Linked DNA regions of Homo sapiens: region 1 is linked to region 2. The links are contacts of gene promoters, found by promoter capture Hi-C in human tissues and cell types (Jung and others, 2019). All regions are on one chromosome and are shown on one strand. Each heading gives the region's core, a stretch centred on a gene start or on the middle of the fragment in contact. The rest is flanking DNA. Distances are from core to core; before and after follow the strand shown. Region 1 has its middle 22 kb from the start of LINC02926. Region 2 holds the start of ZNF844 (zinc finger protein 844).

Region 1 (4,168 bases), core at 940-3,439, 510 kb after region 2:
TCCTAGATAAGGAAGAAGTGAAGACTAAACTTGACCTTTGTTCTGTTTCTTCCTTGGGGGATTAGAGAAAGTCACTCCCTGTAACCAGTTATTTTTCTACTGACCCCTGTCAGGCCTCTGAGCCCAAGCCTGCACGAATACATCCAGATGGCCTGAAGCAAGTGAAGAATCACAAAAGAAGTGAAAATAGCTGGTTCCTGCCTTAACTGACATTACCTTGTGAAATTCCTTTTCTTGGCTCAGAAGCTCCTCCACTGAGCACCTTATGACCCCCACTCCTGCCCGCGAGAAAACAACCCCCTTTGACTGTAATTTTCCACTACCTACCCAAATCCTATAAAACAGCCCCACCCCTATCTCCCTTCACTGACTCTTTCTGGACTCAGCCTGCCTGCACCCAGGTGAAATAAACAGCTTTACTGCTCACACAAAGCCTGTTTGGTGGTCTCTTCACACGGACACGCGTGACAACCCGATTTTTCTTTTTTTTAATCTTATGACCTCATTTTTCTCAGAGATGAAGTCTTGTTATGTTGCCTAGGCTGGTCTTGAAATCCTGGCCTCAAATGATCCTCTTGCCTAGGCCTCGCAAAGTGCTGGCATTACAGGCATGAGCCACCGCACCTAACTTAAAGTTTTTTTTTTTTTTTTGAAACGGAGATTCACTCTTGTTGCCCAGGCTGGAGTGCAATGGCGTGATCTCAACTCACTGCAACCTCTACCTCCCGAGTTCAAGCGATTCGCCTGCCTCAGTCTCCCAAGTAGCTGGGATTACAGGTGTGAGCCATTTGCCCAGCCTAGCTTAAATTTTTAAACAAAACTTCTCTCTTCCTTTTTTTTTTGTTTGTTTTTGAGATGGAGTCTCGCTCTGTTGCCCAGGCTAGAGTGCAATGGCGCAATCTTGGCTCACTGCAACCTCCGCCTCCCGGGTTCAAGCTATTCTCATGTTTCAGCCTCCCGAGAAGCTGGGATTACAGGCACCCACCACCACGCCCGGCTAATTTTTGTATTTTTAGTAGAGACCAGTTTTCGTCATGTTGATCAGGTTGGTCTCGAACTCCTGACCTCAGGTGATCCGCCGGCCTCGGCCTCCCAAAGTGCTGGGATTACAGGCGTGAGCCACCGCGCCCAGCTTACTTCTTTCTTCCTTAACCAATTGCAAATGTGATCTTTGAATCTACCTGTGACTTATGAGCCCCACTTCAAGATATTCCATTCTTTTAAGCTTATACCACTGTGTAACCTCCATGTACTGATTTATGATTCTTGCCTGTAGCCTCTGCTTTCCTGAAATTTACCCCTGCCTTTTCCGTGTGTGTCTGTGTGTGTGTTTCCCCTGCTGTCTTTACAATACTCCTGCCTTTAAAAACTCTTACCTGCGGCCAGGTGCGGTGGCTTACCCCTATAATCCCAGCACTTTGGGAGGCCAATGTGGGCAGATCACCCGAGGTCAGGAGTCCAAGACCAGCCTGGCCAACATGGTGAAACCCCATCTCTACTAAAAATACAAAAAATTAGCTGGGCGTGGTGGCAGGTGCCTGTAATCCCAGCTACTCGGGGGCGGGGACGGGGGAGACTGAGGCAGGAGAATTGCTTAAACCCAGGAGGCAGAGGTTGCAGTGAGCCGAGATTGCACCATTGCACTCCAGCCTGGGTGACAGAGCAAGATTCCGTCTCAGAAAAACAAAACAAAACAAAACAAAAAACCCAAAAACTCTTACCTGCAAGCTATTGGGAGCTCAAGTCAGGCCAGGTGAGGTGGCTCACTCCTGTAATCCCAGCACTTTGGGAGGCCGAGGCTGGTGGATCACAAGGTCAGGAGATCGAGACCAGCCTGACCAACATGGTGGAACCCCATCTCTACTAAAAATACAAAAAATTAGCCAGGTGTGGTGGCACGTGCCTGTAGTCCCAGTTACTCGGGAGGCTGAGGCAGGAGAATAGCTTGAACTCCGGAGGTGGAGGTTGCAGTGAGCTGAGATCGCGCCACTGCACTCCAGCCTGGGCGACAGAGTGAGAGTCTGTCTCAGCACTCCTGCCTGGGCCATAGAGCAAGACTCTGTCTCAAAATAAATAAATAAATAAATTATAGAGTGTACCTTCTTACATTTAGTGGGACTCCTAGATATAACTGATTCCTGGGATTGATTAATCCCATGAAGGATTGTCAGTTAGTGCATTACAGAGATGTTAAAATTAAAAATTTTAACCCGGGAGGCGGAGATTGCAGTGAGCCGAGATCGCGCCTCCAGCCTGGGCAACAGGGAGACTCCATCTATAAATAAATAAATAAATTAATTAAATGGGGCCTAGCTATGCTGACCAGGCTGGTCTCAACTTCCTGGGATCAAGTAATGCTCCCACCTTGTGTCCTAAAGCACTGGCATTACAGGTGTGAGCTACTATGCCTGGCCTCACGTTGACATCTGATCTCCAAAGCAGCTGTTTTGAGAGGTGCGGCCAGGTGGCAGGTGTTTGGGTCAAAAAGGCAACTCCATCACAATAGATTAACGCCCTTCTGTTATTGCTTTCACAGGAATGGTTCCCACGAGAGTAGGTTATTAAAGGGTCTGTCTTCCTTGATGTCCTCTTACTTCCTGTCTCACCACGTGATCTCTGCACACGCTGGTTCCCCTTCTGCTTTCTGCCGCAAATGTAGGCAGGTGAAACCCTCTCCAGATGCAGCCTGAACAAGATTTTACTAATGAGAAGAGCATGAAGTCTTTCATGAGGCATCTACCCTATGACTTAAACACCTCCCACTAGGCCTAAAACCACTACACTGGACCATATTTCAATAACTATGGAGAAGACATTGAAACCCTAGCAGGAATTTCCTGGATGACAACAGATGCTTTACATAATTTAAGGATACTGGGATTTATTCAGGTTTGAATACGTTTGTTGAGCTACAGGAATGCCACAGGGGTTGTCCCTTATAACCCAGAGGATCAGGGTCTCTGTTGAGATAGAGGCATGGGCAGCGGCAGCAGCAGAGGTACTTAAAGGTCCAGCTGAGTGTGAACTTCAGGACACCATCTAATGGTAGCTTCCCCACCTTCTCTTCTTTCGCATTTTTTCTTTTTTCTTTTTTTTGAGATGGAGTCTCGCTCTGCTGCCCAGGTTTATGTGCAGTAGGGCAATCTTAGCTCACCGCAACCTCCACCTCCCAGGTTCAAGTGATACTCCTGCCTCAGTCTCCTGAGTAGCTGTGATTACAGGTGTAAACCACCACGCCTAGCCTTCTTTCTCACTTTTTTTTTTTTTTTTTTGAGACGGAGTCTTACTCTGTCGCCCAGGCTGGAGTGCAGTGGTGCGATCTCGGCTCACTGCAACCTCTGCCTCCCAGGTTCAAGAGATTCTACTGCCTCAGCCTCCCGAGTAGCTGGCATTACAGGCGTCCACCACTATGCCCAGCTAATTTTTGTATTTTTAGTAGAGATGGGGTTTCACCATAATGGCCAGGCTGGTCTCAAACTTCTGACCTCAGGTGATCTGTCTGCCTTGGCCTCCCAAAGTGGTGGGATTACAAGCGTGAGCCACCACCACTGCGCCAGGCTCTTTCTCATTTTCAAATGACTGCTCTTTCAGGAATGACCACTAATGGGGCCCCAACATGCACAAGATAAAATCTCACCACCAGCCCCCACCACCAGACCTACAGGACAAGGCCAACACCTAGCATCAGTCCCAGCTTCATTCTACATAGAAAGGCAAAGTGAAAACTCCTAGCCCAGACCATTTTAAGGAGGGCCCAAATCCGATACTCCTGCTCCTAAATGCCAAAGACTTATAGAAACTGCCATCTTCGGTTGGCTAAATCTGGAACACAAGTTTGTTCGGCCTCAGCAATGGAACACAGAGCAGCAAGCAGCAGCAGCTCAAAGAGCATGCTGGCCACCAGGTAGCAGAGCAGGTTAGCACCTGAGAGAAAGGGAAAGCTGACCCATTGCATGGTGACCAACATCTAGACATCCTGCTGACAGTGCCAACTGTTACGGTTGCCTGAAAAGGTGTGCTTCAGAGGTTGACACCGAGAGCTATGTGGTGCACACACACACCGAGAGTATGAAAAGGCTTATTACAAAAATGAGGTATCAGAGAGAACAATGCAGGGCTCTCAAGCAAGTGTGACATGGCGTGAGAGCAAGGAAGATGGCATTCCTGT
Region 2 (4,524 bases), core at 1,544-4,043:
ATCCTGGCTAACACGGTGAAACCCCCTCTCTACTAAAAATACAAAAAAAAAATTAGCCGGGCGTGGTGGCAGGCGCCTGTAGTCCCAGCTACTCGGGAGGCTGAGGCAGGAGAATGGCGTGAACCCAGGAGGCGGAGCTTGCAGTGAGCTAAAATCGCACCACTGGACTCCAGCCTGGGTGACAGAGCGAGACTCCGTCTCAAAAAAATAAAAATAAAAATAAAAACCCGGGTGGACAAGAAACAAAAAATAAAAAGAATTTTAAAACTGTAAAACTGTTGTTGAGTACTAATGTGCTCATAACTATTGAGCAGAACAGAAGTTTATGACATAGACTGAACTAAGGGAAGACTAAAATAATCTTTTTATAGCTTTTTGTTTAAAATATTGCTAATTCTTTTGTTTTTCAAAGTCCAGAAAAACTTTTTTTTTTTTTTTTTTGAGATGGAATCTCACTTTGTCACCCAGGCTGGAGTGCAGTCACTCAATCTCAGCATCTCGCTCACTGCAACCTCCACCTCCCAGGTTCAAGTAATTCTCCTGCCTCAGCCTCCAGAGTAGCTGGGATTACAGGCACCCGCCACCAGGCCTGGCTAATTTCTGTATTTTTTAGTAGAGACTGGGTTTCGCCATGTTGGCCAGCTGGTCTTGAGCTCCTGACCTTAGGTGATCTGCCCGCCTTGGCCTCCCAAAGTGCTGGGATTACAGGCGTGAGCCACCGTGCCTGGCCATAGGTATCACTTTCTTTACGGCCCAGAACAAATAGCCCTCCTAAACAAATAATGTACATAACTCACAAATTTCTTGCTTACCATCAAAAACCTTGATTTATCAAACATTTCAGGTGACAAAACAATGCAAGTTCCCAAGTTGCATTCTATAAAATCTCTAGCAAACCTTTGTTTCTTTGCAGCCGGCTCCCTTCTGCTGGTTCTGCCTGTTGCCTTCTTGCAAGGTACTTTCATATTTTCCTTAATAAATCTGCCTTTTTTTTTTTTTTTTTTTTTTTTTTTACCTACAACTGTCTTGGTAAATCCCTTTTTTTTTTTTTTTTTTTTTTTGAGATGGAGTCTTGCTCTGTTGCCCAGGCTGGAGTGCAGTGGCACAATCTCGACTCACTGCAGCCTTTGCCTCCCGATTCTCCAGCGATTCTCCTGCCTCAGCCTCCTGGGTAGTTGGGATTACAGGCGCCCACCACCAAGCCCGGCTAATTTTTGTATTTTTAGTAGAGATGGGGTTTCGCCACATTGGCCAGGCTGGTTTCAAACTCCTGACCTCAGGTGATCCGCCCGCCTCGGTCTCCCAAAGTGCTGGGATTACAGGTGTGAGCCACATCGCCCGGCCAGTCTTGATAAATTCTTTTACCCTTGCGCCACTGGCCCAGATAGTAGCCACTCACCCACAACATAGATGAAGACTCCCACAGAGAGAATGGATGCAAAATGCTTCTTTTAAGAATTTCTGGCCGGGCACGGTTGCTCACGCCTGTAATCCCAGCACTTTGGGAGGCCGAGACGGGCGGATCACGAGGTCAGGAGATCGAGACCATCGTGGCTAACACGGTGAAACCCCGTCTCTACTAAAAGCACAAAAAATTAGCCAGGCATGGTGGCAGGCGCCTGTGGTCCCAGCTACTCGGGAGGCTGAGACAGGAGAATGGCGTGAACCCGGGAGGCGGAGCTTGCGGTGAGCCGAGATCGCGTCACTCACTCCAGCCTGGGCAACAGAGCAAGACACCATCTCAAAAAAAAAAAAAAAAAAAAGCAAAACCAGAATTTCTTACTTATTTTGTTTTTTGGTCTCACTCTGTTGCCCAGGCTGGAGTGTACTGGTGCAATCACAGCTCACTGCAGCCCTCGACTCCTGGGCCAAAGTGATTCTCCTGCCCTGGCCTCCTAAAGTGCTGGTATTACAGGCCCCAGCCACCTTGCCTGGCCTCTTTCCAGACTTTTTTTGTTTTTGTTTTTTTTGAGACGGAGTTTCATTCTTGTTGCCCAGGCTGGAGTCCAGTGGCATGATCTCGGCTCACTGCAACCTCCGCCTCCCAGCTTCAAGTGATTCTCCTGCCTCAGCCTCCCACATAGCTAGGATTACAGGCGTCCGCCACCACGACTGGCTAATATTTTGTATTTTAGTAGAGATGTGGTTTCACCATGTTGGCCAGGCTGGTCTCGAACTCCCGACCACAGGTGATATACCCGCCTCGGCCTCCCAAAGTGCTGAAATTACAGGCGTGAGCCGCCGCGCCCGGCTTTCCAGACTTTTAAAAGTGTCAGACTCTCAATTTCTCCCGGATCAGGGAAAGGGAAAAGGGGAGAGGGGGCATGGCTTCACTAATGGAAATACTCCATAGACGCAAATTTCACCCCCCAGAAGACAGTTGTGCAAGGGCAAAGCTGCAGCCATTCGAAATTGCCAAATAAATATATTTTGGAATAAAATATTTTAATTGCTTTCACCTCTATTAAACATAGAGTCTGGAACTCCCTGCACACACTTATGACACTGTGCAGGACGAAGAAGCAGGGACAGACCATTGACAGAGCCACTTCTAGTAATTAAGACGAGCAAGTTTGGCCGAAATGCAAATTTTCAAAGAGCAGGGCGTAGAGAGGGAACTTGACCTTGGACTGTGGCTTGAAGCGGTCAGTCCTGCTCTGCTTGGCCCTGTTACCCAGGACTTCTGCTGTCACTCAGGATGCAGGGGGCGGGGCCTGGCGCTCCACCCAATCAGAGTCGCCGGGGTGGGGCCCGGCCAACTGTTTATCCGCGGGTCACATTGCCGTTCGCCTCAGTCTTTGGCCCCTCCCGCCGGGTGAGGTTGGCACCCCGTTTTTCCTGCTCTGAGAGGGACCGGTTGCCACCGCCATACTTCTGTCGCCCTGTCGTCTGTGTTGTGACTGCTTTGGACGTGGGAGTCACCTGAAAGCCAGGAAATGGTGAGTGTGAGCCCCCGCTGGGAGTCCCGAGACTTGGGGGAGGGTAGGCGGAGGCTGGTTGGAACTGGCTGGAACCGGCTGTGCCGGGACCCGGACCTCCCCGCGGCGACTCGAGGTCTGGGGCCCGAGCCCCGCTGGCGCAGCTCGGCCTTCGGTCCATTCGGCCGCCGGGTGCGGCTGGGCCGGCAGCCGGGACCCCTGGGCGCCCTGTCTCGTCGCCGCGCGGCGACTGCGGCCCCAGCCCGGGAGCCCTCTCTGGACAGCTCCGCGCCCGCAGCCCGGAGCCTCTCCATATTGTGCGGGGCCACGGGAGGGTCATGGGGGCAATCCCGCCTTGGGTGTGGGGCTCGTGCGGGAGGAGCTGCGCTGTGAGGCCCTCAGTGCCCCCTTTCTCCTGTTAAAACTTAAACAGGCCCGGTGCTGGGAATAGAGGCGTGAGCCACCGCGCCTGGCCTAGCGTGGAGAACTTGTGACAGCGGATAAATGTTTTCCCTGCTGTCTGTGGCTTAGAGCTTGGCAACTGCTGTCGTGTTTTTGTTCACATCATGATCAATGTGTACTAGATGCTTTGTTGTTGTAATCGCCTGAGGGGTTCTTCCTGCCTGTGCTGCAAAAAGAAAGACCAGGGCATTGCAGTAAAGAAAATGTTTGACACGAGATGGACCACGCAACGCCGAAGACGGAGACAGAGTTAGCACTCAAATCAGTCTCCCCGAAGGCTTATAGTTAGGGATTTTTCTTTAATATTTTTTTCTTACAATTTTTTTTTTTTTTTTTAAGACAGAGTCTCGCTCTTTTTTGCCCAGGCTGGAGTGCAATGACACGATCTGGGCTCAGTGCAACCTCTGCCTCCCGGATTCAAGCGATTCTTCTGCTCAGCTTCCCTAGTAGCTGGGGTTACAGGCACGCCACCACGCCCTGCTGATTTCTGTATTTTCAGTAAAGACGGGGTTTCACCGTGTTGGCCAAGGTGGTCTTGAACTCCTGACCTCAGGTGATCCGCCCGCATCGGCCTCCTAAAGGGCTAGGATTACAGGCGTGAGCCACCTGGCCCGGCTAAAAATTGTTTTTTAAACAAGGTCTCACTCTGTCGCCCAGGTTGGAGTGCATGGCGCGATCACGGCTCACTGCATCCTGGACCCACCTGAGCAGCAGCTCAGGTGATTGTGCTGCCTCACCCTCCCGAGTAGCTGGGACTACAGGCGCAGGCGGCTAATTTTTGTATTTTTGGTAGAGATGGGGTTTCGCCATGTTGCCCAGGCTGGTCTTGAACTCCTGGGCTCAAGCGATCTGCTCACCTCGGCCCCCCAAAGTGCTGGGTTTACAGGTGTGAGCCACCGAACTCGGCCAGGGGTTTTTCAAAGGCAGAATCGGGGAAGAGGTGGTGGGAAATGGTCCTCCTGAGTGCTGAGTTGCTTATAGAGGAGCAGGGTTGGTGGGCCTGAGTGGAGCCATGGGTGTCAGACAAGCAAAAAACCTGAAAACACTTATCTGCAGAAGTATCTTGGGACCAGTCTATACCATAGCAAAATTCAGGCTCCTCATCGCTCCCCACTCTGTTCCCCCCGCCCCGACTCATGGTTTT

Evidence for each region. The method cuts DNA at HindIII sites, captures the fragments that hold promoters and counts their contacts. A contact is called where the count stands out against the background at its distance.
Region 1: a contact is called between a fragment that was not itself captured here and the fragment with the promoter of ZNF844 in region 2, in 1 of the 25 tissues and cell types used here (spleen).

The regions. Positions count from the first base shown.
Region 1 is chr19:12,571,627-12,575,794 of GRCh38, forward strand. No RefSeq gene overlaps it. Among named protein-coding and RNA genes, the nearest start is that of LINC02926, 22 kb to the left of the region's middle. The HindIII fragment of the contact is 5,850 bases long and covers 1-4,168 here.
Region 2 is chr19:12,061,938-12,066,461 of GRCh38, forward strand. ZNF844 (zinc finger protein 844) reads left to right here and starts at 2,794. Exons shown (of 4, transcript NM_001136501.3): 1 at 2,794-2,939. The coding sequence starts at 2,937. RefSeq lists an enhancer at 2,879-2,968 and a silencer at 3,059-3,238. The HindIII fragment of the contact is 18,413 bases long and covers 1-4,524 here.